7 separate regions of the Homo sapiens genome follow, and regions 1, 2, 3, 4, 6 and 7 are each linked to region 5. The links are contacts of gene promoters, found by promoter capture Hi-C in blood cells and fetal thymus (Javierre and others, 2016). All regions are on one chromosome and are shown on one strand. Each heading gives the region's core, a stretch centred on a gene start or on the middle of the fragment in contact. The rest is flanking DNA. Distances are from core to core; before and after follow the strand shown. Region 1 holds the start of LOC105371438 (a long non-coding RNA gene). Region 2 overlaps SETDB1 (SET domain bifurcated histone lysine methyltransferase 1). Region 3 overlaps MINDY1 (MINDY lysine 48 deubiquitinase 1). Region 4 overlaps SETDB1 (SET domain bifurcated histone lysine methyltransferase 1). Region 5 holds the start of CA14 (carbonic anhydrase 14). Region 6 overlaps PIP5K1A (phosphatidylinositol-4-phosphate 5-kinase type 1 alpha). Region 7 overlaps ARNT (aryl hydrocarbon receptor nuclear translocator).

Region 1 (2,931 bases), core at 278-2,777, 720 kb after region 5:
AATTCTAAAATGTACAACATGGGGAAGGAAGGTGATCAGTACAACTGTAAACAACTGCAATCCGGCCCTGAAGTTGAACAAAACAAAACCTAGGGAGAGGAATGAGTTTGTAGCAGGTTTCAATGCAGCGATTGTGAACGCATCACACACACACTCCTCACAGGCAAGGACTTCGCTTCTGCCATGTGACTGAGACTCTGTTGGACTTCTCCAAATTCAGAGTTCAGCCTGGCATGCCGGCCAGGAGCCCCTTGGAGAGATTCGGCGTGAGGAAACAGGAGGCCTCACGCTTCCTTCGGTTCTCCCTAAATCTGCTGGGCAGGTAGCCAGAAGAAACTCTGAAGGGTACAGAAAGCCGAGGGCCAGGGGGACCCCGGCTGCGGAGCTGCAGTACCGTGTTTACCCAGCCTAACTGCGGTCACCCAGTCTCCTGCATGTGTCTGAGGTCAGCCTCGGGGGCTCCCCTGAGTAGGTATCTACCTGAGGCTCTTCCCCTGATGCTACCTGCATACCAATTCCACCCAGGAACCTGGCGTCCTCAGGAGGCTGCACTTCCCAAGTGGGCTGAGACAGCCCCTTAATATGTGGGGCTGGAGCCAGAGACCTCAAGGGGCCACTAGGGGGCTCGAGACTCTCAGTGGCTGCTGACGCCCTCTTGTGGCCATTTTGGGGATTGGCCAGAAAAGTTTCAGAAGCGAGCCAAGATCGGAATTCTTAAGGAGGTAAGTAATAACAACAGTAACAGTTACCATATAACAATACTTATCGTTATATATTTGATAACATTGTGACATTTCTACTTAACAGCGCTGTGCCCAGAACTCTTCTAAGTGCTTTATATGCACTGTAGTTATTTAATTCTCACAACAACCTATAACATAAACACTATTACTTGTCTGTTGATGATGAGGAAACTGAGCACAGAATAGTTGCCCAAGGTCACACAGAAGACCAGAATCCCGACTCTGAGAAGTCTGGCTCCAGAAGCTTTGCTTTTAGCCACCACGCTGAGACTGAGTTCCATTTTGGGGTTGTCAGGTGAAATACAGGACACACTGTTAAACTATAATTTCAGATAAACAAAAAATAATAATTACAGGCGGTGGCTCACGCCTGTAATCCCAGCACTTTGGGAGTCCAAGGCAGGTGGATCACGAGGTCAGGAGTTCGAGACCAGCCTGGCCAACATGGTGAAACCCTATCTCTACTAAGAATACAAAAAATTAGCCAGGCATGATGGCAGGCGCCTATAATCCCAGCTACTCGGGAGGCGGAGGCAGGAGAATCGCTTGAACCCGGGAGGTGGAGCTTGCAGTGAGCCAACATAATGCCACTGCACTCCAGCCTGGGCAACAGAGAGAGACTCCGCCTCAAAAAAAAAAATGTTAGTATATTTAATGAAATATTTGGGTCATACTTGTACCAACAAATGATTCCTCATTTACGTGAAATTCTGATTAAGCTGCATGTCCTGTATATTTATTTATTTAATCTAATACCCCTACTTTACAGGGCACTTTTCTCTGCCACATGCAATTACACAGATTACTTTTTTTTTTTTTTTTTTTTTTTGAGACGGAGTCTCACTCTGTCGCCCAGGCTGTGGAGTGCAGTGGCGCCATCTCAGCTCACTGCAACCTCTGCCTCCCAGGTTCAAGTGATTCTCCTGCCTCAGCCTCCCGAGTAGCTGGGATTACAGGCATGCGCCGCCATGCCCGGCTAATTTTTTGTATTTTTAGTAGAGACGGGGTTTCACTGTGTAAGCCAAGGCTGGTCTCGATCTCCTGCCTCATGATCCACCCGCCTCGGCCTCACAAAGTGCTGGGATTACAGGCATGAGCCACCGTGCCTGGCCACATTACCTTATTTATTTATTTATTTATTTATTTATTTTTATGAGTTCAATAGTTTTTGGGGACAAGGTGGTGTTTGGTTACATGGATAAGTTCTTTAGTGGACACATTACTTCATTTAATCATCCCAGGAAACCTGTCCTCGGAGGCCCCAGCATGTCCCACAGCCTCCGTCTCTCTCAATCCTCCCATTTAGAGAGCTGAAAGGACTAGCGAAGCTTACAGAACATAGGTGGCAGAGCTGGATATTGAACCCTCATTCTCCAGTTCTGACACAGGTGCATGTTTTCCTTTTAACAGGAGAGAAAAGTGAGGAGCAGTGATTACCGCCACAGAAATATCCTTTCATGGCGTGTCCTCCGGCATGGTCTACTCAGTGTGGTGGAGCCACTGCAGGTCCCTCCTCCAGGGATGTAGGAATGCCAGTGAAGGCCTTCCTGAGTTGGGAGAGAGGCAGAGGAGTGAGTGGAGGCAGGGCTGTAGCTTCTGTGCCCCGCCCCTACCCAGGCTCTCCAGGGAGGCAGGAAAGAGGCTGTGTTTAGACCTGAGGGAGCCAGCTGTGAGGCTGGAGCAGTTGCTGCATGGCGGGGCGGGGGCTCCACAGGGCTGTTCACCTGCTGCTCTGTGCAGAGACAGCCTCAAGTCCAGCTGCTGGGGTTGCATCACCTGCAGCTAAAACAGCCACAGGGCCCAGGCTGCCAAAAGGCAACAGAAGCAATCTAAGAAACCAGGCAAGGGAGCCTCCCCCATCTCCCTGTTGCCTTTTGGGAGCATAGAGCTTCCCTCTGAAGGTAACACCCTTTGCATTTTTCTCTCTTGACTCTGTTCATCAACTTCCACTCCCAAATACTTGTGCCCTTCCTTCTCCACAGATATACACAATCCCTGGGCACTCTCCACCTAGGTCAGCTGGCTCTAGTAAGGCAGCAGTCAAGGGAGTTTCTGGGCTGGGACCCCCTCTGGGGTGCAGGCTGGGGTGCCCTGCTGGTATGTGCCCCAACAGGTTTTTCCCTATCAGCCTTGAAATCAGCCTGCAGCCTGTCTGACCTGCCCCCCAGGGAGCTGGAGCCAGAGGCAG
Region 2 (2,981 bases), core at 300-2,799, 690 kb after region 5:
TCTAAGGCCCAGCATGGTGGCTCGTGTCTGTAGTCTCAGCACTTTGGGAGGCTGAGGTGGGAGTATCACTTGAGGCCAGGAGTTGGAGATCAGTCTGGGCAACATAGAAAGACTCTTATCTCTTAAAAAAAAAAAATGCTGAGTGTGGTGGTGTGCACCTGTAGCCTTAGCTACTCTGGAGGCTGAGGCAGGAGGATTGCTTGAAGCCCAGGATTTCAAGGTTACAATGAGCTAAGGTCACACCGCTGCACTTCAGCCTGAGTAACAAAGTGGAACACTGTCTATAAAAAGAAAAAAAAGAGGCTACTCTGCCGACAGAGTAGCAATTTTTTTTTTTTTTTTTTGAGATGGAGTCTGGTTCTTTTGCCCAGGCTGGAGTGCAGTGGCACCATCTCAGCTCACTGCAACCTCCGCCTCCCGGGTTCCAGCAATTCTCCTGCCTCAGCCTTCCGAGTAACTGGGGTTACAGGCGACTGCTACCATGCCAGGCTAATTTTTGTATTGTTAGTAGAGACGGGATTTCTCCATGTTGGCCAGGCTGGTCTTGAACTCCTGACCTCAGGTGATCTGCCCGCCTCAGCCTCCCAAAGTGCTGGGATTAAAGGCATGAGCCACCGCGCCTGGCCGTTATTCTTTTATTCCTTTACTTTGTGAATAAACTTGCTTTCACTTTAATAAAAGAAAAAGTATTATCTAAGTCAAAAAACAATGTATGCCAGCGTCCATGCCAGTCAATAATGGGAACTGAGAGTCTAAGCACTTACTCAAAATGTGTCCATTGCTGCTTTTTTTTTTTGAGACGAAGTCTTGTTCTGTTGCCCAGGCTGGAGTACAGTGATGTGATCTCGGCTCACTGCAACCTCCACCTCCTGGTTTCAAGTGATTGTCCTGCGCCTTCCGAGCAGCTGGAATTACAGATGTGCACCACCATGCCCATCTAATTTTTGTATTTTTAGTAGAGACGGGGTTTCACCATGTTGGCCAGGCTGGTCTCAAACTCATGACCTCAAGCAACCTGCCCACTTCGGCCTCCCAAACTGCTGGGATTACAGGCAAGAGCCACTGCGCCCAGCCATTGCTTCCTTTTTATATTGTATAAGTTAAGGATCAGATGTGTGACTGAATACAAGCGTCATAGCTATCATCTTCTCAGTGCTCAATTTCCTTTTTCCTATAGGTGCTGTGAGGAGCAAAGGCCCTGTTGTCCAGTACACACAGGATCTGACCGGTACTGGAACCCAGTTCAAGCCAGTGGAACCCCCACAGCCTACAGCTCCACCTGCCCCACCTTTCCCACCTGCTCCACCTCTATCCCCCCAAGCAGGTGACAGTGAGTGAGTGTTATTCTTTCTTTTTCTTCAGTTTCTTTCATATTATATTTTCCACATCCCTTACTATATGCCCTCTTCTCTAATCTCCTAGAAGCTTGGAAAGCCAGCTTGCCCAGTCACGGAAGCAGGTAGCCAAAAAGAGCACGTCCTTTCGACCAGGATCTGTGGGCTCTGGTCATTCCTCCCCTACATCTCCTGCACTCAGTGAAAATGTCTCTGGTGGGAAACCTGGGATCAACCAGACATATAGGTGAGAAAATCTGAGGCTCTCTGTAGGCAGGATAGCAATGAGTGGTCACTGTGTAGGGGAAGGTTCCTTGGCTGTAAGCGAAGGGCTTAGTTTAAGCTTATGATAGTGAGGAGTTTGGACTTGAAAAGGAAGCTTTACCCATAGAAGTTCCTAAGAAATAGAAAGTAAGAATAATTGAATTGGAAGCTGGGTGCTTGGAAATATGGTATCATCTGAAAGCCATTTGTTAAAACTTCTTGTTGAACATGGTGCCATCATTGCTAAAATAGAAAGGAAACACCACAGCCTCTTTCCTTGGAGTTAGTAAGGACATTTTTAGAACACGCAGCAGACCAAAAAAACATTGGTAGAAGACTGGATTCTACTTCCATAATTCACAGGCAAATACATTTTAGGAAAAGGTATACTGTTGAAATAGAGATGTTAGGCCGGGCGCGGTGGCTCATGCCTGTAATCCCAGCACTTTGGGAGGCCGAGGCGGGTGGATCACCTGAGGTCGGGAGTTCGAGACCAGCCTGGCCAACATGGAGAAACCCTGTCTCTACTAAAAAATACAAAATTAGCCAGGCGTGGTGGCGCATGCCTGTAATCCCAGCTACTCAGGACGCTGAGGCAGGAGAATCGCTTGAACCCAGGAGGCAGAGGTTGTGGTGAGCCAAGATCGTGCCATTGTACTCCAGCCTAGGCAAAAAGAGCGAAACTTGTCTCAAAAAAAAAAAGAGAAATAGAGATGTTATCAGTCAGTGAAGAGTAACCAGGGAGTTTCATTGTCCAGGTTTGGTAGGGCAAGGGAAGATCTTTCTTGAATCATCTTTAGCTTCAGGAGCACAGCTGTTTGAAAGATGAGAGAAATGGCTTAGCTACCTGGAGGGTTAATTATAAAACAGAGGTCCTGTTGCCTTCCGATCTGATCACTTGCATCTCATTTGCAGATCACCTTTAGGCTCCACAGCCTCTGCCCCAGCACCCTCAGCACTCCCGGCCCCTCCAGCACCCCCAGTCTTCCATGGCATGCTGGAGCGGGCCCCAGCAGAGCCCTCCTACCGTGCTCCCATGGAGAAGCTTTTCTACTTACCTCATGTCTGCAGCTATACCTGTCTGTCTCGAGTCAGACCTATGAGGAATGAGCAGTACCGGGGCAAGAACCCTCTGCTGGTCCCGTTACTATATGACTTCCGGCGGATGACAGCCCGGCGTCGAGTTAACCGCAAGATGGGCTTTCATGTTATCTATAAGACACCTTGTGGTCTCTGCCTTCGGACAATGCAGGAGATAGAACGCTACCTTTTCGAGACTGGCTGTGACTTCCTCTTCCTGGAGATGTTCTGTTTGGATCCATATGTTCTTGTGGACCGAAAGTTTCAGCCCTATAAGCCTTTTTACTATATTTTGGACATCAC
Region 3 (3,093 bases), core at 333-2,832, 740 kb after region 5:
CTCTGCTGCTCAAATCCTAGAGAGCTTTGGCAGTTTCTAACTTTTGAAGACCAGCATTGTTTAAAAATTCCACTGCCCCCTCCTAGGGGAGGATCATACTTTCCTGTCCCATCGACGGCAGGCTTATCCCTTATGGCTTGCTCTGGCCAGAAGATGTGAGCAGAAATGACATGTGTCATTTCCAAACAGAAGCTCTAAGCATGAGTGCACAGTGCCCCTCTCTCTCTCTGTTCCCACATATATTCCAGATAAAGGATCTTTTGTCAGCTGGGTCCCAGAGTGAAGATGGTGTGGGACAGAACCGTAGCCAGTCCACAGTGGACACGCACCAGGAGCGGGAAATGAACCTTTGTTGTGGTAAACCACAGGGATTTGAGGGGTCACTTGCTACCACGGCTTAATCTAGCTGATCCCAGCTGGACCCACGAGAAAAAGGCACCAGGAAATGACAGCACCGCAGCACGCCACCCCCAAACTCGCATTACCTTATGCTTAGTCATGGTGCTAAAGTGGTTGTTTCGGAAAAAGACGCTAAGTTCACCCTCCTTAGCAGCTGCTGTCAGCTCACACAGTCCGTGGTAGGTCAGCTGGGCCGCGGTGGTCTCCAGGAACTGCTCTGCAATCAGGCCTGCCAGAAAGGGACGAGTCGGGGGAAACTTGGCTTAAATTCAAGGTCCACAACAGGAAGGACCATCCAGAGAGCCCCTGTCAAAAGCCCCGGGGGGTCAGTCCCACCTTCTGACGTCCCTTTCTTGAAACCTGGCTGTATTCATTCACTTAACAAATACTTATAATAGAGCAGCTACCTTGTGCCAGGCACTGGGGATACCTCAATGAACTAAACAGAAATTCCCCAAGCTCCTTCTTGTGAAGCTTATATCTAGTGGGATGTGGTAGGAGATGACACCCAATAAAAAATAAGCCTAAGTAGCTGTCATTCCCTCCACATACTATCCATGAGAAGGGGAGGAATGTCACCTTCTGTCACGAGGTTGGTGTCACTGGAGTGTTTGCAGGTGATGATCCTCTCCACCAGCTGGTTGTAACTCAGTTTCCCAACTGCACGCACAGCCTCAGGACTCTGCTTGGGTAGTGGGATGTGGGATACCAAAAAAATTGGGATTTTTTTTTCTTTTTTAAGGAAGGAAATGAACAAAGCTCACAAGGACTACAACCCTGTGATGAATGGTTCCTAAACACTTTTTTTTTTTGGTCTCTCAAAAAAGAAAAAAATTTCAGGAACCATTCATCATAGGGTTGCTATGTTGCCCAGACTGGCCTCGAACTCCTCCCAAGTAGCTGGGAATACAGGCATGTGCCACCAAACCCATCTGCTTCCTGAATTTTTGATGTCTAAAGAACTGACCTATTTGCATGTAGTTTGCTTGTATTTGCATGTTACCCCCAAAATAGATTAAAATTCAAGGAATTCTGTACTGGGTCCAGTCTCTAAACACTATTTCCCTCCCAAGCCAATCTAACCCCTAACTCCCTAACCTCTACCCGACAAAAATTTGCCTCTCTCATGTCAGCTTGAGCTGGATAAGGTCCCAGTGGGCCCTCCCACCCTCACCTGTGGATCAACAAGCCAGCCATGGTACAGAGGTATGCCTAGCAGGTCAAAGACACTGCACTCGGGTGTATACTCAAAATCAGAGACGCCTGTGAATCGCACATTGACATCCAGACCTGTGGCCAGTTTAGGCAGCACTGTCATTGCATCATCCACATTCTGGGGGTAGAAAAAAAAATGATGGAGATTCTAGCCTTCTCTCCCACCACTCCACTCCCACCTGCAGAAATTAAAAATTAACCTTGCTGCTCTTCTTCCCTGATTCTCTTACAAGCCACTCCATTTCTCCCTTGCCTCAACCCTTCTCTATCTTATATAAATGAACATTGTTTTTCTTTGAGAGTCTAAGTCTAATTCTTTCATCCAGGCTGGAGTGCAGTGGTGTGATCCTAGCTCACTGCAGCCTCAAACTCTTGGTTTCAAGTGACCCTCCCACCTCAGCCTCCTGAGTAGCTGGGACTACAGGCACGCACCGCCATACCTGGCTAATTCTTGAAAAAAAAAATGGTTTTTTTTAGAGACAGGGGTATTATTATGTTGCCCAGGCTGGCCTCGAACTCCTGGCCTCAAGTGATCCTCCCGCTTTGGCATCTCAAAGTGCTGGGATTACAGGTGTGAGCACCCGGCCAATGAACATATTTTCTAGGACAAAGATAAACTCTCCTCTGACTCCTGCAGAATGAAATCATGGTTCAAGGAAACCTCTGAAGAAGCAACAAAAGCTTATCTTAGTATTACAAGATGTCCCCTTACAAACCTGCAAACCCCTATGCCTGCAGACCTTTTGCCTCACCTGCTGAAAATTAAGCTGAAGTCCCTCTGACTTCTCCTGGGGCTTGATGGACAGGAGGCAGTTTCCTACAAGACAGGGCCCCTTATCAGCTTACCCCACCAATCATCCCAAAAGCTAAGTTTCCTCTTCTCCTGGAGAATGCGGGTAATGTCACAGAACACAGATTTTCAGAGCTGGAAAATACTTAGAGTCTAATCCAGACTCTTCATTTCTCAGAGGAGGCGACAGCCTCATAAAGGTGAACGGCCCACCCAGGGTCAGATACAAAAGCTAAGGGCAGAATTGGTGTTACAACCCAGGACTCCCGACGCCTTTGCTTTTCATTCTCCAGCCTTGCAGAGAAGCCCCATAGACCCTTACCCTCCCTGCTGTATCAGAACCCCCAAATGGAGATCCCTGAATAGTCTGGATTTCTGGCTGAGTGGATAGCTCTGGAGCCCCTTGGGTAATTCCTCTTCAACGCCCAGTCACTCACCAAGATGGGCCATGAGCTCATCCGATGTGATCACTTCCTTCTGCGGGGGGAGCTTCACCTGGAGGCAGAAGGGGTGATCACGTGTGTGCTTTCCTCCAAAGAGCACTGAAGGAAGAACCCATGGAAAGGCAAGGGGGAGCTCCAGTAGTAGGGTGGGGTAGGAAAAAAGGCTTGCAACTGGCACAAGGGAATGAATGTGAAATCTTGCAAGGCATGTGCATTTGCTAGGGAGTAGGAGATACAGGGGTAGGA
Region 4 (2,884 bases), core at 385-2,884, 670 kb after region 5:
CACATTAGTTAAGGAACACATATAGACCACAAAAATATCTTATAGATTGGTTCTCTTCAGTATCCCAAAAGATTATTTTTAAAGTTCGGTTTGTTTTGAGACAGGGTCTCACTTTGTCACCCAAGCTGGAATGCATGGCGCGAACATAGCTCACTACAGCAGCTACTCCTGGGCTCAAGCGATCCTCCCACTTCAGCCTCCTGAGTAGCTGGAACTAAAGGCGTGCACCACCACACGTGGCTAATTTTTGTATTTTTTTGTAAAGACGAGTCTTGCCATGTTGCCCAGGCTGGTCTTGAACTCCTGCCCTCAAGCGACCCTCCTGCCTCGGCCTCTAAAAGTGCTGAGATTACAGGTGTAAGCCACTGTGCCAGCCCAAAACATTATTTTCAGTAGCTCTCTACTGCTTAATGAATGTTCTCCATGCCGTCTCAAACTCTTAAATCTTTTTCAGGAGTGTTAGCGTACAGCAGAAGATAAGAACTCTTAAAAATCTCAGCATCAGATTCTGGAGAATAGGGAGGGAGAACATGGAATATTTGAATAGAATAACAGGCAGCAGAGTAGGAATTAGTTTTATTAGGGAACTGAAATTCTCTATTGATTGATTGTAGTTATAAGGACTCCAATTTAATTTGTTTTCTGTTCCATGCAGAGGACAAAAGCATGTCTTCCCTTCCTGGGTGCATTGGTTTGGATGCAGCAACAGCTACAGTGGAGTCTGAAGAGATTGCAGAGCTGCAACAGGCAGTGGTTGAGGAACTGGGTATCTCTATGGAGGAACTTCGGCATTTCATCGATGAGGAACTGGAGAAGATGGATTGTGTACAGCAACGCAAGAAGCAGCTAGCAGAGTTAGAGACATGGGTAATACAGAAAGAATCTGAGGTGGCTCACGTTGACCAACTCTTTGATGATGCATCCAGGTGAGAACTCCATGGAAAATAGAAGGAAATCTCTCCATTGGGAGATGTTTTTAGAGAATAATTGTTCATGACATTGAACCAAGCATTTTATTTTATGTTTTGAGACGGAGTCTCGCTCTGTCACCCAAGCTAGAGTGCAGTGGAGTGATCCTGGCTCACTGCAACCTCCACCTCTCGGGTTCAAGTGATTCTCCCACCTCCCCCTCCCGAGTAGCTGGAATTATAGGCATCCGCCACCACACCCAGCTAATTTTTTATATTTTTAGTAGAGACAGGGTTTCACCATGTTGGCCAGGCTGTGTACCAAACATTTTATACTTTATGAAGTACAGATGTTTAGAACCTTACTCTTCCTCAAAGTTTATGGTCAAAAATCTGACCTTACAATCAGCCGTAAATATAATTTTCATCTGTCAGCAGCTAATACATGATCAGCAGTAAGGGAGTCCAAGTCTTAAGTCCTTTCCCCTTCTTCCTCCTGTGCTCTATCTTAGAACAATTGCTTCATTTCCCTAGTAAGATCATCCAGGGAGTGAGGATTGTAAAGAATTTCTGTCTTACGTAACTCTGAAGCATTAGTAAGTTCCCATACCCCCAAAAGATTTGTTTCTGGTGCTCTAGTTGTCACTTAGAATACATTGTTTTTAAATTTATTATACTTTAAGTTCTAGGGTATATGTGCACAACGTGCAGGTTTATTACATATGTATACATGTGCCATGTTGGTGTCACTTACATTAGGTATATCTCCTAATACTATCCCTCCCCCTTCCCCCCACCCCACGACAGGCCCCAGTATGTGACGTTCCCCATCCTGTGTCCAGGTGTTCTCATTGTTCAATTCCCACCTATGAATGAGAACGTGCGGTGTTTGGTTTTCTGTCCTTGCTATAGTTTGCTCAGAATGATGGTTTCCAGCTTCATCCATGTGCCTACAAAGGACATGAACTCATCCTTTTTTATGGCTGCATAGTATTCCATGGTGTATATGTGCCACATTTCTTAATCCAGTCTATCATTGATGGACATTTGGGTTGGTTTAAAGTCTTTGCTATTGTGGATAGTGCCGCAATAAACATACGTGTGCATGTGTCTTTATAGCAGCATGATTTATAATCCTTTGGGTATATACCCAGTAATGGGATTGCTGGGTCAAATGGTATTTCTAGTTCTAGATCCTTGAGGAATCGCCACACTGTCTTCCACAATGGTTGAACAAGTTTACAGTCCCACCAACAGTGTAAAAGTGTTCCTGTTTCTCTACATCCTCTCCAGCACCTGTTGTTTCCTGACTTTTTAATGATCGCCATTCTAACTGGTGTGAGACGGTATCTCATGGTGGTTTTGATTTGCATTTCTCTGATGGCCACTGATAATGAGCATTTTTTTATTTTATTTTTATTTTATTTTATTTTTTTTTTAGACAGAGACTTGCTCTGTCTCACCCAGGCTGGAGTACAGTGACGTGATCTCGGCTCACTGCAGCCTCCGCCTCCCGAGTTCAAGCAGCTCTCCTGTCTCAGCCTCCGGAGTAGCTGGGACGACAAGCGTGTGCCACCACACCCGGCTAATTTTTGTATTTTTAGTAGAGATGGAGTTTTACCATGTCGGCCAGGCTGGGGAGGTCAAATTCCTGACCTCAAGTGATCTACCTGCCTCAGCCTCCCAAATTGCTGGGATTGCAGGTGTGAGCCACCACTGCCAGCCAGGATACATTTTCAGATAACAGCAAGGTAAATAATGAGGTAAGGGTGAAAGTACTGTACTTTGGGCTTACTTTGGATTTTTGAGGAACTAGTCTGGAAACTAAACCACTATTTAAAACATTTTTCTATAGAAAAAGCATTCTAAATTCTAAACAGAGACACTTTGGAATGTGGCCCATTTAAATTGAGGACTGTCTATACTTAAATATATATACATCGTAATGGATTCTATATCTCTTAATTCCTCTACTG
Region 5 (2,988 bases), core at 330-2,829:
CTTCTTTCATACCAAGATGTCTCTGCTTTCTTTTTTTGTTTCTTTGTGTTAAGTACCCTGATTCCCGGGAAATCTAATTTATACTTCAAGTCTTTTACTCTTCTTAGATGGGATGGATGGGGCTTTGGGGAACCTCAAAACATAAAACTTTCCTGAAGGGGACAAATAACTCAGAGGGTGATAGGAGAAGAAAAAGGGAAATGACATCAGCAAAATGGCTTGGCTTTGCAGATCAATCACAGGGGATAGAAAGGCACAGTGAGCTCCTGTCTCTGCAGGAGCTGATGATCCAGCACATGCATTATTCTGTTCATTTGGCTTTTATCCTGCTCCCTTATTTAGCTTCTGCTCCCTTTGTTTGGCTATTTATTGCTACTCGGCAGGAGCAAGGAGGGCAGAGGGAGCTTCAGATGGGTGCATCCTCCTGGCTGGTGCCTCTGGTGAAGAGCATGGAGGAGAAAGAGGTTTCAATGTCTGGCTTGAAAGTATCTGTGGGTTTCACATTCTCTAACGAGGGATTTAGGATGTACATTCCAATCGGGATTTCCAGTCCCGTGGGGAGCAAACATCAGTTCACATTCCTGAGACGTGCAGCCTCCATGCTCCACGGACGCAGCTCCTTGGTGGCAGGTTTCATTCAGTGCCACATGTCCTGCCTCAGCCCTTTGTTGGGCTGGAAGGAAGACCCTGAGCCCCTCTTCCATCTGGATCACATGGTCTCTCCAGACCCTCCCCTCTCTTTCTCTGGAAACCACCTTTTTCTGATGGTGGTAGTGATTGTTCCTAAAGTCTCTCCTTTCCTCCTGCCCTGGCCTCTCTGCCGGAGGTCAGTGTCCTCTTCAGTGACAAAAGCCGCCCTAGATCTGGGCTCCCTGGAGAGGGAGGTGGCTGGGTCTGGCAGTTACAGCCGCTGTCTCTCCATGGTGCTGCTACACCCCTCCCCCACTGGGCATACAAATGGGCTTTATCCAGCAAACAACGCTCCCTCCCCGCACTCCCCCCACCCCAGGCCACACAGGCACGTGGACCCAGGCCTCACCGTGGGAAGGGGGTGGTGGCAGGCACAGAAGAGATTGCTCCAGATGAGTTCTCCTTGCCTCACTTCTCTTCCTTAGAACTTAGGACACAACTCAGGTTTTAGTTATTGACTTCCTCCACCCCTCCCCTGCACCCTGAGTCCCTAATTCCTTCTTGTTATATATCTCCTAATTCTGGACTCTTCCCATTCCAGGGCAGCTCAGATTATGCAGGGAATTGGGAACAGGTACCCCCACCATCTGCCGCATACCACCCAGGGAGCTGCTCCTCAGAGGAGAAATCAGGCGGGGGGATGAAAATACAGTGTCCTTTTGAGGGGGCTGAGTTGAACCCCAAAGCCCCTTCCTTGACCCTGCCTGCTCCAGGGAACACCCATCTAAACAGCATCTGTGTGACTAGCAGAGGAAGGAAGAGCTCACCCCAGCTGGGCTCCTGAGCCAGGGCCAGGGCTCCAGTGAAACTTGCCGCGCTCCAGCTCCGAGTGGGGCCATCCTGCATGCCTAATTGGCTATTTAAGGAGCTGTTCACCAGCAGCCCAGGCAGCACCCCCGTCCCCACATACACCAGTTCAGAGCCACCTTAAAAGCAGGAGGCAGTTGTAAAGTCGCTGGCCAGCTAGTGGAGTGGAGACTGCAGAGGGAGATAAAGAGAGAGGGCAAAGAGGCAGCAAGAGATTTGTCCTGGGGATCCAGAAACCCATGATACCCTACTGAACACCGAATCCCCTGGAAGCCCACAGAGACAGAGACAGCAAGAGAAGCAGAGATAAATACACTCACGCCAGGAGCTCGCTCGCTCTCTCTCTCTCTCTCTCACTCCTCCCTCCCTCTCTCTCTGCCTGTCCTAGTCCTCTAGTCCTCAAATTCCCAGTCCCCTGCACCCCTTCCTGGGACACTATGTTGTTCTCCGCCCTCCTGCTGGAGGTGATTTGGATCCTGGCTGCAGATGGGGGTAGGTACAACTAAATGTCTGTGTGTGGATTTGTGCTGATGTTCACATGTCGCCAGGTGTGCTTAATGGGGGGAGGAGAGGTGTGAAAGGAAGCCTAGAGGCTGGAATAATAGGCTCAGAGATGAGGAAAAAAGAGTGGGGTGTGGAGGAGACCACTTCCCTTCTTTACCTTTTGTCTCTCCAGCCTTGTTGTTATTGGAGGTCGGGGAGAACTAGCGGCAGGCAGGCAGAGTGTGTACACATGCAAGTGCTGGAATCTCTTTGCAGGCTACAGATTTTCTCCAGAGCTCTTTCCCCCACTGCCCTGGTCCCAGGCAGGACTCCTGGACTTCTTTATTTACAAACTCCTCCAAATAGGGAGTCAAAGAGGCCTGGAGTAAAAAGATGGATAGATGGGGGTAGGGGGAAGAATACTTCCTGCCCAACTCAGACCCTGATCTCCAATTCATCCCCTTTTGGCCAAGATTCCCTCTTCATTCTGTGGAGCGACTAACTCCCCAGTTATCCTCTGAAAGTGGCAGTAAGAGTCAACATTTGTTTGACATTTTACAGTTTACAAAGGACTTTCAGGAGCTCCCAGGAGATGAGGAGGGATTCTTGGGAGAACAGGCTGAAGCGCTCCAGGAGTGTCCCCAGGAACTCCTAGACCTCATTTTTGTGTTTCCTGTGCCTAGCACAGTGTCCAGCACATACTAGGTGTGTAACTGAGGTTTGTGGAAAGAGCAGGGTGAGGTGGGTGTCCAGAGAGCAGAAGGCAAATGCAGAGAGGATGGGGGCAGGCAGGCAGCCAAATGGAGAGTCACAAATCTCATCTGAGGAGAAAGAAAAAAAGAGGGAAAGAGGAGGAAGAGACAGAATAAGTGTGTTGAGGCTCTGACCAGAGTGGACAGGCACCTTTACAGACCAGGGAGTTTGAGTTGTTGGGGGGTCCCACAGATATGGTAAAATGAGAGGCTGCCTCCAGCTCTCCCTTGGGCTAGCAGAATAGGTCAAGGATAA
Region 6 (2,901 bases), core at 340-2,839, 990 kb after region 5:
TTCAGCCTGGGCAACAAGAGCGAAACTCCATCTCAAAAAAAAAAAAAAAAAGGAATTATGCAATAGGGTACATTTCATCTGATGGAAGTAAAGCAGTCATCAAGGCTCCATGTTGGGGGGTTAGGTGTGGATATGTTTCCTTTCTTCTAGGTTTTCATGCCTCTTGGAAAGTGAAGTGAGCTAACACCTTGTTCTCTGAATAGTAATTCATAGGCCTGTCTTTGTTGACATTAGCCTTTTCACTTTTCAGACCAACTTTGGGTGTGTGTTGGGGATACTAGCAATTATTTGTATCTATGTCTTGGTAATAGTTGCTAAGGTAGTTGCTAAGTAGGCTCTCTCTTTCCCTTTTGAAGTGAAGCCTTCTCCTTCCAAAAAGTTTCGGTCTGGCTCATCTTTCTCTCGGCGAGCAGGCTCCAGTGGCAACTCCTGCATTACTTACCAGCCATCGGTCTCTGGGGAACACAAGGCACAAGTGACAACAAAGGCAGAAGTGGAGCCAGGTCAGCGCTAGGGCTGGGGTCCCCATGTGATTGGGTACTCCCTCCCTTCCTTCTGAGCCTTTATCTTGTCTGGCCAGGACCTCTGCTCCCATTTCTATCCAGGAAGCCTAGCTGCTACATATTTTTCCTTGTATTTACTGTACCCCATCTTCTCTATCTTTTTTCCAGGCGTTCACCTTGGTCGTCCTGATGTTTTACCTCAGACTCCACCTTTGGAGGAAATCAGTGAGGGCTCGCCTATTCCTGACCCCAGTTTCTCACCTCTAGTTGGAGAGACTTTGCAAATGCTAACTACAAGGTTGGTTTATTGGCCCCTTTCTCCATATAATCTTATCTCTCTTTTCAAGTCCTTGGAAACCTCTATAATTTGATTGCATCATAATAAATTACCCCAAAGATTAGTGGCTTAAAATAACAAACATATATCATACTTTCTGTGGGTCAGGAATCCAGGCCCAGCTTAGCTGGGTCCTCTGGCTCAAGATTTCTCATGAGGTGGCATTTAAGCTGTTGGCCAGGGCTGGGGTCTCATCTGAAGGCTCAAACAGGAAGATCTGCTTTTAAGCTTATTTATGTGGTTACTGGTAGGATTCTGTTCCTTGTGGGTTGCTGAACTGAGGGCCTTAGTTCCTTGCTGGCTGTTGTCTGGGGGCTTCCCTCAGTTCTTTGCTACATGGACTTCTCCATAGGACAGCTCAGAACATGGCACCTGGGCTATCTGACAAGTGAACAAGAGAGCATGTGCCTATGCAGAAACCATGGCCTCTTATAACTTAATCTCAGAATTGACATTCTACTTGTGCTACATTCTGTTCACTAAATGCAGCCCACACTCAAGAGGAAGGAATTACCCATGGGTGTGAATACCAGGAGGTGCAGGGATCATTGTGAGCCATCTTAGAAACTGCCTGTCATAGTCTGCTCTCTGGTCTCCAGTAATTTACATACCTCCATGTCGAAAATACACTGACCCCCTCCCAGGGTCTCATCCCATTGTAGCGTTAGCTCAGAGTCCAGAGTTTTATTACCTAAATTAGGTCCGGTTGGATGAGCCCCCCAGGTATAGTTCCTTAAGCACAGCTCCTCAAGTACAGTTCTTCTCAATCTGTGAACTTGTGGAACCAAAGAGACAAGTTATCCTTTCCCCATGTACCTAGCATACAATGGTGAGACAGGCATTAGATAACCAATATACACATTTCTGTACATAAAAGGGGAGAATGGGAGGCACAAAAAGGAGTCATTGATTTTATTTGCTGTTCCAAAATCCAGGAAATGTTGGAGTTTCTTTTATCAGGCCTCAAAGCAGAAGAATAATTCTCCGTGGTTCTTGGCTCTACCCTCTAGACTCTTGGTTTTGTCTTCTGAGTCTTCCTTTTTCATCAAAGCTAGAGTGTGTTTTTACCTGAGTTCTTTTCTCAGGCTGCTTCTTTCCAGTAGAATTTTAGGGGAACTAGTGGTCTCTATTTTGTACTGTTTCTGTCCTTTTTGATCCAAGATGGCAGTGTTTCTACTGATACAGAAGATTTTGTGGGCCTCCTGTGATTCTCCTTGGGATTTACTCCATTAGACAAAAGCCACACTCATAAATATCTTCTTTATGAGACCTAAGCTTCTTACAGACTCTGTTTTTCGGTTGAAAGGATCTGTGAAACATAATCTTCTGAACAGCCTTTTGTATGACTGAATAGCACAATCAGCCCTCCGTATCCACAGGTTCCACATCCCAGATTCAACCAACTGTGGACTGAAAATACTTGAGAGCCTGGTGTGGTGGCTCATGCCTGTAATCCCACCACTTTGGGAGGCTGAGGTGGGAGGATTGCTTGAGGCAGTTTGAGACCAGCCTGGTCAATATAACGAGACCCCATCCCTTTGAAAAAAAAAAAGAAAGAAACGAAAAAATACTGAAAAAAAAAAAAAAAGTCGTGAAAATGTTATGTTGTTGCTGATATGTACTGTACAGTTAGGCCTGTACTTAACATGTACAGACTTTTCTTGTCATTATTCCCTGAACAATATAGTATAACAACTATTTACATAGCATTTACATTGTATTAGTTATCATAAATAATCTAGGAATGATTTAAAGTATATGGAGGGCCAGGCGTGATGGCTCACGCCTGTAATCCCAACACTTGTGAGAGGTAGAGGCGGCCAGATTACTTGAGCCTAGGAGTTTAAGATCAGCCTGAGCAACATGGCGAAACCCCATCTCTACCAAAAATACAAAAAAATTAGCCAGGCGTGGTGGTATGTTCCTGTAGTCCAAGTTACTCAGGAGGCTGAGGCAGGAGGATCGCTCGAACCCCGGAGGCAGTGGTTGCAGTGAGCCGAAATCGCGCCACTGGACTCTAGCCTGGGTGACAGAGCGAGACCCTGTCTCAAAAGAAAAATA
Region 7 (2,700 bases), core at 132-2,631, 570 kb after region 5:
GCAGAAAATTTATGCTTTGCCTAATCTGTAACTTTTAAAGTTAGCAAGCAACCCAAAATGAAGTTATACCAACCATCAATAGTTATTCATGTCCCTTGGAAAAGAGAAAAACCAATGTTTTACACAGAAAGGGAAGAAGACTGCATTTCTCCCCTGTTTTTTGCATAGTTATACTCTTTTTATCCAGAAAAATAGTATTCCTTGATGCTACATAGAGGTATGAAAGATCACATACTTTAACTGTGTGGCTTATATAGTATATAGACTAAGTAGTTCAAATGTCATTACTACTTCAGTTAAATTTTTTTAAATTACATTAATTACTTTTATTGGGTTACCTGCCATATGCCAGGCACTGGGCTGGATGCTTTCCTTACATTAAATCTAATCCTCACAAAAACCCTATACAGGATGTACTAACTCTGAATTACAGATGAGAAAACTGAGCTTTATAAAGGTCAAGCAACTTACCCTAGGTGATGCCACTAATAAGTAACAATGACAGGAATCACATCCAGGTTTCTCCACATCCAAAGTTTAACCTTTTTCCAAAACACATCACCTTGCTTCTCTTTTCTCTTAGTTTCTGTCTCCCCAAAACCCCTACTTTCCAATAATACCCAGGCAGCAGGGAAGTAATAAAGTTGCTAAGATTTGGAAACTCTGACAAGCCAACTTAAAACTTTGATCCTGCAACCCAATCACCTTTCTCACATTCCTTGTTTGACCTCAAGTTCTGGTAAAGCTAATCTGCTCAAAGCTTGATTTAAAGTCTTTGCAGAGAATATCCTCTTGATAAGTTATTACAATAAAGGCATTTTCCCCTTTTCTCTCAAAGTCTTGTTCCTACTTTAGAAATCTTTCTCAAATTAACTGCATTCAATGTCTAAGTTTCTTTGCAACAAATGCTTAGAATACATATGTTCAGTATAAATTTGTTCACATAAAAACCACATTCTGTGACACAGCCAATACTGAATCATTTTCCAGCCTGAGTTATCTATCTCCTCAACTGGAATAAAAGCTCAATAATGGAAGGGAAGGATTGTACATTTTCTTTTCCTATTTTCTTTCATCTTACACAAAAGTACATTTCATATACCAGGTATATAATAAATATTAGCTTTCATGGACTCTGTGAGGAACCAACTGTACCAAGGGGAAATATTTACTATTTCACTTTCTTACCTGCTGGGGGCCAGGCCTTGATGTAGCCTGTGCAGTGGACCACCACGAAGTGAGGTTCCCCATCCTTTACAGAGCCAAGTCCATTCCTAGAAGAGTTACAGGAGTTTGAAAAAAAAAAAAAAAATCTACCCGTAAAACTCAAAGGGCAATGCTGCCTTAGTACTTTTAAGTTTATGCTCTTAGGAGTTTAGAAAACAGGATAATCATCTTTCCCACCCAAAAATGACCGCCACATTTTTACCCTTGCCAAAGTAAAGTAACCAAAAGGTATGCAGTAGGAGGAAAGTAGGTAAAATAGCATAGCGACTTCCTTAAACAGGATTTTCAAGAGAAGTTTTAGAAGTTTAGGAAAATATTGCCAGAAAAAAAGTAAGTGGGAGGTAAGGGATGTTAAGTGGGAGGTAAGGGATGCAAGTGAGAGCTGCTGAAGGAACGACTACAGTAAGACAGGTAAAAATGTGATGATCTCTGCAGGTATTTGGCCATCCCTTTGGTTTTCACCACTTAGGATCTCACCTGCATCTGTTCCTCACAAAGCTCAGCCTATTCACAGAAACTGGGTCCACAGAGCTACTGCCACACCTGTTTCAAGGAATAAAGAGATTAAAAGCAATCAGACTGCCCTATCAAAGAACTTTCCACAGTAATAGCAGAATAACATGCTCTGGATACAACCAGACATAGAAAATTGGTAATGCTACTAATAATGAAGGATAAAGATAGGTCAAGTTTAGTATTTCTAAAACTTTTAGAATTTGAAGTCAAAATGTTCCATATGTTCTTCATATGCAAACATTCTCAACATCAAGAGTTGGCAAGCTTTTTCTGTAAAGGACCAGATAGTACATATTTTCAGCTTTGCGGGCCAGAAAGTCTGTTGCAACTAGTCAACTCTAGCATTATAGCATGAAAATAGCCATAGATAATATGTAAAAATATGGGCATGGCTATGTTCCAATAAAACTTTATTTACAAATAAAGGGCTGTGGTTTGCTTACTCCTGCTCTACATTAACCACAACTTAATGTAATTGCTACAGTTCATTATTATCTTGCTCTTGCCTATGTCTTTGCATTAGCCATGTCCACATATTGGGATACTCCTGCCAATGCTACTTTCCCTCTCCCTATCCTTTAAAACAAAAATAAAACTTACATAGGGTTAATATGTGTCATGCTCTGTTCTAAATATCTTTACATATATTAATTCATCTAATCTTCATAACAACTTTATAAAGTCAGTATTAACATTATCGCCAATGTGAGATGATGAAATCAAAGCACAATGTAGTCATGTAATCATCCAAGGTTTCAGAAGATAGCATCAAAGCTAGAATTCAAATCCATAGAATATGGATTAAAACAAAATCCAGCAGTCTGGGTCTAGAAGCTACTCTAAATTACACGCTGGGTGCAGTGGTTCAGGCCTGTAATCTCAGCACTTTGGGAGGCTGACGCAGGCGAATCACTTGAGGTCAAGAGTTTGAGGCCAGCCTGGCCAACATGGTGAAAC

The links. The method cuts DNA at HindIII sites, captures the fragments that hold promoters and counts their contacts. A CHiCAGO score of 5 or more calls a contact.
Region 1: a contact is called between a fragment that was not itself captured here and the fragment with the promoter of CA14 in region 5, in 5 of 17 cell types (fetal thymus, endothelial precursors, naive CD8 T cells and 2 more). The highest score is 8.6, in fetal thymus.
Region 2: a contact is called between a fragment that was not itself captured here and the fragment with the promoter of CA14 in region 5, in 1 of 17 cell types (naive CD8 T cells). The highest score is 5.3, in naive CD8 T cells.
Region 3: a fragment that was not itself captured here is called in contact with the fragment with the promoter of CA14 in region 5 in 9 of 17 cell types (fetal thymus, total CD8 T cells, total B cells and 6 more); the score reaches 11.9 in fetal thymus.
Region 4: a contact is called between a fragment that was not itself captured here and the fragment with the promoter of CA14 in region 5, in 1 of 17 cell types (fetal thymus). The highest score is 6.3, in fetal thymus.
Region 6: a contact is called between a fragment that was not itself captured here and the fragment with the promoter of CA14 in region 5, in 1 of 17 cell types (neutrophils). The highest score is 5.6, in neutrophils.
Region 7: a contact is called between a fragment that was not itself captured here and the fragment with the promoter of CA14 in region 5, in 1 of 17 cell types (erythroblasts). The highest score is 5.7, in erythroblasts.

The regions. Positions count from the first base shown.
Region 1 is chr1:150,979,024-150,981,954 of GRCh38, forward strand. It overlaps LOC105371438 (a long non-coding RNA gene), which reads right to left and starts at 2,482. Exons shown (of 3, transcript XR_922135.3): 1 at 2,398-2,482; 2 at 2,181-2,290; 3 at 935-1,063. It also overlaps a transcript of ANXA9 not described here. The HindIII fragment of the contact is 1,084 bases long and covers 986-2,069 here.
Region 2 is chr1:150,947,945-150,950,925 of GRCh38, forward strand. It overlaps SETDB1 (SET domain bifurcated histone lysine methyltransferase 1), which reads left to right. Exons shown (of 22, transcript NM_001366418.1): 11 at 1,178-1,334; 12 at 1,423-1,581; 13 at 2,514-2,981. Among named protein-coding and RNA genes, the nearest start is that of SETDB1, 23 kb to the left of the region's middle. RefSeq lists an enhancer at 2,020-2,164 and a cis regulatory region at 2,092. The HindIII fragment of the contact is 252 bases long and covers 1,424-1,675 here.
Region 3 is chr1:150,998,884-151,001,976 of GRCh38, forward strand. It overlaps MINDY1 (MINDY lysine 48 deubiquitinase 1), which reads right to left. Exons shown (of 10, transcript NM_001376665.1): 3 at 2,842-2,899; 4 at 2,367-2,431; 5 at 1,574-1,732; 6 at 979-1,081; 7 at 486-628. Among named protein-coding and RNA genes, the nearest start is that of MINDY1, 6.5 kb to the right of the region's middle. The HindIII fragment of the contact is 1,422 bases long and covers 872-2,293 here.
Region 4 is chr1:150,927,049-150,929,932 of GRCh38, forward strand. SETDB1 (SET domain bifurcated histone lysine methyltransferase 1) reads left to right here. Exons shown (of 22, transcript NM_001366418.1): 2 at 656-926. The coding sequence starts at 667. Among named protein-coding and RNA genes, the nearest start is that of SETDB1, 2.1 kb to the left of the region's middle. The HindIII fragment of the contact is 3,618 bases long and covers 1-2,884 here.
Region 5 is chr1:150,256,195-150,259,182 of GRCh38, forward strand. It overlaps CA14 (carbonic anhydrase 14), which reads left to right and starts at 1,580. Exons shown (of 11, transcript NM_012113.3): 1 at 1,580-1,989. The coding sequence starts at 1,935. RefSeq lists an enhancer at 1-464. The HindIII fragment of the contact is 8,593 bases long and covers 1-2,988 here.
Region 6 is chr1:151,241,767-151,244,667 of GRCh38, forward strand. PIP5K1A (phosphatidylinositol-4-phosphate 5-kinase type 1 alpha) reads left to right here. Exons shown (of 16, transcript NM_001135638.2): 13 at 357-503; 14 at 672-801. Among named protein-coding and RNA genes, the nearest start is that of PSMD4, 12 kb to the right of the region's middle. The HindIII fragment of the contact is 1,047 bases long and covers 1,067-2,113 here.
Region 7 is chr1:150,830,630-150,833,329 of GRCh38, forward strand. ARNT (aryl hydrocarbon receptor nuclear translocator) reads right to left here. Exons shown (of 22, transcript NM_001668.4): 9 at 1,705-1,770; 10 at 1,189-1,274. Among named protein-coding and RNA genes, the nearest start is that of CTSK, 24 kb to the left of the region's middle. The HindIII fragment of the contact is 1,247 bases long and covers 759-2,005 here.